2 separate regions of the Homo sapiens genome follow, and region 1 is linked to region 2. Evidence: promoter capture Hi-C in 16 types of primary human blood cells and fetal thymus (Javierre and others, 2016). All regions are on one chromosome and are shown on one strand. Each heading gives the region's core, a stretch centred on a gene start or on the middle of the fragment in contact. The rest is flanking DNA. Distances are from core to core; before and after follow the strand shown.

Evidence for each region. Contacts are between HindIII fragments. The CHiCAGO score rates a contact against its expected background, and 5 or more counts as called.
Region 1: a contact is called between a fragment that was not itself captured here and the fragment with the promoter of NDUFAB1 in region 2, in 1 of 17 cell types (erythroblasts). The highest score is 5.8, in erythroblasts.

The regions. Positions count from the first base shown.
Region 1 is chr16:23,478,487-23,482,238 of GRCh38, forward strand. GGA2 (golgi associated, gamma adaptin ear containing, ARF binding protein 2) reads right to left here. Exons shown (of 17, transcript NM_015044.4): 10 at 2,159-2,284; 11 at 1,279-1,401; 12 at 397-425; 13 at 1-15. Among named protein-coding and RNA genes, the nearest start is that of COG7, 27 kb to the left of the region's middle. The HindIII fragment of the contact is 204 bases long and covers 2,144-2,347 here.
Region 2 is chr16:23,593,454-23,597,744 of GRCh38, forward strand. It overlaps NDUFAB1 (NADH:ubiquinone oxidoreductase subunit AB1), which reads right to left and starts at 2,863. Exons shown (of 5, transcript NM_005003.3): 1 at 2,670-2,863. The coding sequence starts at 2,837. RefSeq lists silencers at 599-775, 2,521-2,610. The HindIII fragment of the contact is 11,223 bases long and covers 1-4,291 here.

The sequences.
Region 1 (3,752 bases), core at 996-3,495, 120 kb before region 2:
ATTCTGACCAGAAACCTGTCAAATCAGGAATGGCTAAAATAAGACCAGGGTATGAATGACCATCAGCCACAGTAAAACCAAGGCACAGCTCTCCTGAGCCCACCCAAGCTGCTGTGGCCCAGACTGGTGACATCTCTTGGGGCAAGAGGGGAAAGAAAGGGCAAGATCACATGCAGCTCCTGGGCAGACCTCCAGGAAGCAGGAGCCTGGTGCAACCTGTCTCCCCCAGGTATCAGCCAGACAGTATGGGTGAGGAAGAGGCTTTGGACCTCCAAGGCCATGATCCCACCGGGACAGTGCAGGAGCACCTCTCTGCTCGCCAGGCAGTGCTGCCTCACAAGGGCAGGTCTGAGACCCTCCCATTCTCTCTCCGGGCCCTGGGAAGGGCATCCTTACCATGCCTGTAACAGGAGCATCACTGATTCCTGTAAGAAAGGAGTAGAGTGAGATGCCTAACAGTAACTCCACCTGCTTCCAGATGAAGAGTAATGCCACACCCATCCTTTCTAGGACATCCAGAAAGTCTAGACAAATAAGCAACTTACTGAAGGTCATGTGACTCGTCCATGGCCAATCTGTGACTAATATGCAAGGGGGACCCTCTGAACTGCCCAGAACACCTGATTCCCTTGGCAGCAGGTATGTGCTCCCCAAGGGAACCAGCTCACTCTCCTACTCACAACCACCCTGATTGCCTCAGCAGCAGGTATGTGCTTCCTGAGGGGACCAGCTCACTCCCCTACTCAAAACCACCCTGATTCCCTCAGCAGCAGGCATGTGCTTCCTGAGGAGACCAGCTCACTCCCCTACTCAGAACCCTGCTGATTCTCTCAGCAGCAGGCACTTGCTCCCAGAGGGAACCAGCTCACTCCCCTACTCACACCCATCCCGATTCCCTCAGCAGCAGGCATGTGCTCCCTGAGGGTCCAGCTCACTCTCCTACTCACAACCACCCTGATTCCCTCAGCAGCAGGTATGTGCTCCCTCAGCAGCAGACACGTGTTCTCCGAGGGTCCAGCTCACTCCCCTACTCACACTCTCCCTGACTTGCTCAGCAGCAGACACGTGCTTCCCAAGGGGACCAGCTCACTCCCCTACTCACACCCATCCTGACTCCCTCAGCAGCAAGCACGTGCTCCCAGAGGGAACCAGCTCACTCTTCCTATTCACAACCATCTCGACTCCCTCAGCAGCAGGCATGTGCTCCGCGAAGGGAACCAGCTCACTCCCCTACTCGCACCCATCCTGTGCCTGCTCCCCACAAGCACCTGCCCTCACCCAAGGCTGCCAGGTCCTGATGAAGCAAAGATGGCACCACAGTCCCCATCTGCGCAGGTCCATTGTCCACCTCCAAGTCAATCAGGGGGCAGGTCTTCATGCAGCCTGCTGGATTCTGAAAGACTAGAAAGCCCAGGGTTAGGAAGAGAAGTCAGTTGGACATGAGAGCAAAGTCTCCACATAAATCCTATCAGCTTCCCTCAGACCACCTCCTAATCAAATGGTAACGCCCTCCCTGCCCTTCCAAGAACCTTCCACTCAGCTGAGTGTCCTGACACACAAGCTCAGCTGGCATCCAAGACAAGAGGGAGCCAAGGCCTGCCTTCCTACCCCAGGGATCATAGGCCCTCCTGCAAAGATCCCATCACTCTGGAGGAAAGCAGATTCGGCCTTCTCCAGCTCAGGCCATTCTGAGGCTTCTGACCACAGCTGATTAGAATCACCCACAGTGCTTGAAAGACGCACACCTCCAGGCCCAGCTCCAAGCAGTCTTGATTCAGAAGGTCCAAGCCAGGGACCGCATTTCAACCAGTGCTCCAGGTGATTCTGATACAGCTGACCTGGCACTAGGAACCACTAAGGAAGATCATTTCTTTTGTCTCTAGCTCCTGTATGCAAGCATTTATGAGAATTCAAACGCAGGCACAGCTTAGCCATCTGCTTTTGTGTGTAGTCAAAGCTGGGGTCCAGCCCGGCAACCAGCTCATGACAATTCCTATGGCTGGGTGTGGCAACATATCCACTTTCACAGGAAGGGGAACAAAGGGCGAGTTCTCTCATTTCTATTCCTTAACCCAGAATATGTTTAGGACCCATTTCTTTTCTGGGAATTACAGGCTGCCCCAAGGCAGAGAAGGCAAGGAGAAGCTTTCAAACATACCTCTGGAGACAGGGATGTCTCCCAATGAGCTGGTCACTCTGTTTCCAAAGGTGACCCGGCCCTCCATCACCTGTTTGTACAGCAGAACTCCTTGGGTGAGGAGGTCATTTGCCTGGAGAATTTCCGCTGAAGAATGAGGGAAGACTCAGAACCCCCTGGTTTGGCAACCAACAATCTCAGTCTTTTCTAAGCTTTTCCATAAAACAGCCTTCATATGGCTAGACTATGTTCAGTTTATCCACACCTCCTGCCTCCAGGTTGTGTCATCGGACCCTATCAGGCCTAGTCAGTTAACCTGAGTCCTAACATGTTAGTAGTTCTCAATGCAGAAGGAAGCAAATCTGTTCACCTTCTACACCTGTACTGTCCAGAGTAATGGCCAGCAGTAAGCACTCAAATTAAGGCCCTTTCAATAACAAACTTTTAACTTTAACTCAGAATCTGAAGCTGCTGGCTCTGTGCAGTGGCTCATGCCTATAATCCCAGCATTTTGGGAGGCCGAGGCGGGTGGATCACCTGAGGTCAGGAGTTCGAGACTATCCTGGTCAAAATGGTGAAACCCAGTTTCTACTAAAAATACAAAAAATCAGCCGTGGCAGGTGCCTGTAATCCCAGCTATTCGGGAGGCTGAGGTGGGAGAATTGCTTAAACCCAGGAGACGGAGGTTGCAGCGAGCTGAGATCGCACCATTGCACTCCAGCCGGGGCAGCAAGAGCGAAACTCCATCTCAAGAAAAAAAGAAATATCAGAAACAGAACATGAGCAGCATCATGGGGGATGCCACGAGCAAAACTGAGACCGAGAGAACTGTCAATTCAGAGGGCCTATTTTCATGCAAGGAAAAAAGGCTGTGTGTGGTGGTTCACGCCTGTAATCCCAGCACTTTGGGAAGCCAAGGCGGGCAAATCACTTGAGCCCAGGAGTTTGAGACCAGCCTGGCCAACATGGCAAAACTCCATCTCTACTAAAAGTACAAAAATTAGCCAGGTGTGGTGGTGCGCAACTGTAGTCCCAGCTACTCAGGAGGCTGAGGCATGAGAATCGCTTGAACACAGGATGTAAAGGCTGTAGAGGCTACAGTGAGCTGAGCACGCCACTGGACTCCAGCCTGAGCAACAGAGTGAGACTGTCTCAAAAAAAAGGAAAAAGGATTGCAGAGGGCATGCACATGCTATCCACTAAGAGAGACAGAAGAAATATAAACCAATTATATGGCTTTTCTTTTATGTCTGATTTAGAACAATTTTTTTTTTTTAAGTTAGCAAGAGATGATTAAGGAGAAATTTTATCAGGGCAATCTGAACACTGACTGAATCTTTGATTATTCTGAAATGTCCAGAGGCCGGGGATCGTGGCTCACGCCTGTAATCCCAGCACTTTGGGAAGCCGAGGCAGACGGATCACTAGAGGCCAGAAGTTTGAAACCAGCCTGGCCAAAATGGTGAAATGTCATCTTACAAAAATACAAAATTAGCCAGGCGTGATGGTGGGTGCCTATAATCCCAGCTACTTGGGAGGCTGAGGAAGGAGAATGGCTTGAACCAGGGAGGTAGAGGTTGCAGTGAGCCAAGACTGCACAACTGCACTCTAACCT
Region 2 (4,291 bases), core at 1,613-4,112:
CAACAGCTAGCATGAGTCCTGGCACACAGCTGGCCCTCAATATCTTTGAATGAACTTAGTCAAAACCACTTTGTAAATATAAATAAAATGGTTCCTCTGCTATATATGCAAGCCAAGCCGCCATAGTGGAACATTTCTGAGCTCCTTGCCATTCAAAGCATGGTCCAAGGAACACCCGCAGCAGGATCTTCTGGAAGCCCACTGGAGGTGGAAACTCTCTGGCCCCTTCCCAGAACTGAATCAGAATCTGTATTCCAGCCTAAGTGATCTGTATGTCCAATCAACTGAGAATCAATGCTGTAAGAACAAAGACAGTCACTTCACATTTTAGCCCAATGTTGAAATCAATCTTAGGAACCAGACACTCATCAATTCTAACTACTGCCTTTTTAACCCTTATTTATTTATTTATTTATTTATTTATTTATTTATTTATTTATTTATTGAGATGGAGTCTGGCTCTGTCGCCCAGGCTGGAGTGCAGTGGCACGATCTCGGCTCACTGAAAGCTCTGCCTCCCGGGTTCATGCCATTCTCCTGCCTCAGCCTCCCGAGTAGCTGGGACTACAGGCGCCCGCCACCACGCCCGGCTAATTATTTTGTATTTTTAGTAGAGACGGGGTTTCACCGTGTTAGCCAGGATGGTCTCCATCTCCTGACCTCGTGATCCGCCCGTCTCGGCCTCCCAAACTGCTGGGATTACAGGCGTGAGCCATCGCGCCTGGCCTTTAACCCTTAATTTCAAGGTGACACTTTTCACCTTTTGATACAGCCAACAGGGCAGTGCCCAATGAATGAATCCATTACACTGTCAGTGAACAGCAACACTGGCTTCACAAAAGAAACACTTGATGACTTCTAAAAATAGTCGCCTAGTACTCACTTCTAGATTCTGTCGATCTGGCACGGGCTGGCTGGCTTATTTAAGACGGTCTGCCTCCCAGACTGGAGTGCAGTGGCATCATCTCAGCTCCCTAAAACCTCTGCCTCCTGGGTTCAATCGATCCTCCCACCTCAGCCTCCTGAGTAGCTGGGACTACAGGCGCGTGCCACCACGCCCGGATAATTTTTTGTATGTTTAGTAGAGACGGGGTTTCACTGTGTTAGCCAGAATGGTCTCGATCGCCTGACCTCGTGATCCGCCCGCCTCGGCATCCCAAAGTGCTGGGATTACAGGCATAAGCCACCGCGCCCGGCCTAATTTCTGTATTTTTTGTAGAGACGGGGTTCCACCATGTTGCCTAGGAGGGTCTCAAACTCCTGGGCTCAAGCGATTCGCCCGCCTCGGCCTCCCAAAGTGCTGGGATTACAGGCGTGAGCCACCACGCCTGGCCAGACACACTTATTTTTCACACTAACATGCAGTCAAGGTTGAAACCACTATTACCTGAAGTCTATGACTTTGAAAAGGGGTTTCATAACTTGACCTTGGGAGTCTATCCTACCTTAAGACGGTTATTTTTATTCCCAACTGCACTTCAGAGTCATCTGGAGAACTTAGAAAACAACAAAAAAAAGGCAGGGCGCGGTGGTTCACGCCTGTAATCCCAGCACTTTGGGAGGCCGAGGCGGGTGGATTGCGAGGTCGGGAGTTCAAGACCAACCTGGCCAATATGATGAAACCCCGTCTCCACTAAAAATACAAAACTTAGCCGGGCATGGTGGCGGGCGCCTGTAGTCCCAAATACTCGGGGGGGCTGAGGGAGGAGAATTGCTTGAACCTGAGAGGCGGAGGTTGCCGTTAGCCGGAGGTTGCAGTGAGCTGAGATCACGCCACTGCATTACAGCCTGGGTGACAGAGCGAGACTCTGTCTCAAAAACAACAACAACAACACCGAAATCACTGCCTCCCGGCGTTTCAGCCTCACGCAGATTTCATCAGCTCAAGCTATATACTACAGGTACAGTCGTTCCTTGGTATTTGCGCAGATTGGTTCCAGGACCCCCGACTATACCCAAATCCCCGCACACTCACGTCCCGCAGTCAGCCTTGCAGAATCCGCTTATAGGAAGAGCCTGCCCTCCTTATACGCGGGGCGGCACATCCCGTAAATACTGGTCGCGTTTGGTTGAAAAAAAATCCGCATATAAGTGGACCCGCGCAATTCAAATCCTTATTGGTCAAAGGTCACTTGGCTTGTTTCCTAGAATTACTTCCAGGAGTCCTGGACACAGGCAGAAGGTGCTGCAGGGAAGAGTAAGGACAGAACTGCAGAGAGAAAACCGCTCTGGAGAAGGCTGTAGGCCAGTGTGGCTGCCTCTTTGCATGCTGCTTTCACTACAATACGGTGACCGCTATTTTGAGACCGTACGAGGTGCTCTAGCCGCATTAACTCATCTAATCCTCATTGCTACTCCGCAAGGTAGAGACCAGGATCCCAATTTTGCAGGTGAGTGTGAGCCAGGCTAGGAGACTTGTCCAAAGTTTCGGTAAGCGGCAGCCCAGCAGTGCTGGACTCGAGTCAGTGCTCTTGCTCGTTATTACGAGGTCACCCGGCCTCCCGTCAGGGGTCAACTAAACACCTTTAGGCAGCGGGGCTGCGGAGCGAGCCGGCTGCCCCCCGGGTCACCCCTGCCTGCAGCTGGCGCGCCCCGGATGCCCGGCCCCCACCCCCACCGGGCCCAATCCCTGACCCTTGCCAAGCGGCAGCAAAGTCACCACGAGTCACCTGCGCGAGCACTAAGGCCGGCTGCAAAGTCCCGAGCCTCGTCTGGGTCCCCGCGGAGCAGAGAGCGGTGCTGAGAGGCCGGGCCACGGCCAGCATCCGGACCCGGGGCAGCGGCGCAAAGGCCGCGGGCAGGCGGCTGACATAGGCTGAAAGGACACGAGACGCCATGGCTACGCCAACCCAGGATGCACTGCGCCGCCGCCTCCGGACCAGGGTTCCTTTCCGGCGGCGCGCAGGCGACGCACACGGCAGCGCTGTCGGGCACCGCCGGCGGTGGCGGCCCCTGGCGGCTCCTGGAGGCACTGCGCCCTCGGAGCCCATCCAGGTTCGGGGACGAACAACTGCTTGGTGTCACAACTAAACTGTGCAGACGTCGCCGTCTTTCCCTAAACGACACGGCACGAGAAACCTACTTTCATTTTTTATCTGAAAGTTCTGAAATACATCTGTTTAAACGTTTGGGGCCGGGTGCGGTGGCTGACGCCTTTAATCCTAGCACTTTGGGAGGCCAAGGTGGCAGGACTGTTTGAGCTCAGGAGTTCAAGACCAACCTGGCCAACACGGCAAGACTCCGTCTCTATTACAAAAAAGATTAAAAGAAAAAAAGGACAAAGTTTTGATTCCACAATTCTTCCACAAGTATTAACATTTATTGAATAGGTAAAAAAATATATATAATAATGTGAAAAAATAATCAATTTCAATACCTAAGACTAATAAATGTGAGAATTACGATTAAAACAATATACATGTTTTAAAACTTGACAGTGTATAATATAGCTGTCAGGTCCACGACTATGCCAACTGTCATGCCCACAGCCAGGTTCCAGCCCATATCGAGGTCTGAGGGGAGTGGGTGGATGAACAGATAGCTGAAAGAACACTCAGGGGACGGTAGGCAGGTGAAAGATGATTTTATTCAGCAGCAGCTCTCATCAGCAGCTTACTTACACTAGTTCTCTCACACTGTCTGCCTTGTCTCAGCTGCTTAGTCCCATGGCTCCCCCACACAACTGCGAGGCTGGCTCTCCCTTGCCTTCAGGGTCAGCAGCTTAACTCTCTCTCAGCTGTGATCTGGCTCCCCCTGTCTGTCTGCAAAGACTGACAGCTCTGGCTCTCTCTTTCTCTGGGCACGAACGCCTGTACAGTATCAGCAGGGCAATTATACCTTTTACAGAAAATAGTGGCTTAGAGCCAAGTGATGACCTTCCCATGTTATGCCTACATGGCTGTGATAACAAGTGGAGTTATACGCCTCTGTCTAAACTTGCTGAGTCACGCAGGATGTAAACATCTTACCTTGGCCTATCCTTGACCAAAGCACAGCCATGTTCCTTACAATAGCTAACAAAAATAGGTAAGCGAGGGAGGAGTTTAAGAAGGCTAATTCCTATTTCTAAGCAGGGAGCTAAAGGATATTGACTGAAATGGAAACACACGGGATAATGACTCCAAATTCTGAAATCTGCCTGAATGAATGATCCAATAATGTCACCAGTTTTACCTCAATTTCTTTTTATTTTTGTTAAATCCAAGTAAAATAAAATGTAATGGTATGCTGCCAGGCGCGGTGGCTCATACCTGTAATCCCAGCACTTTGGGAGGCCAAGGTGGGTGGATCA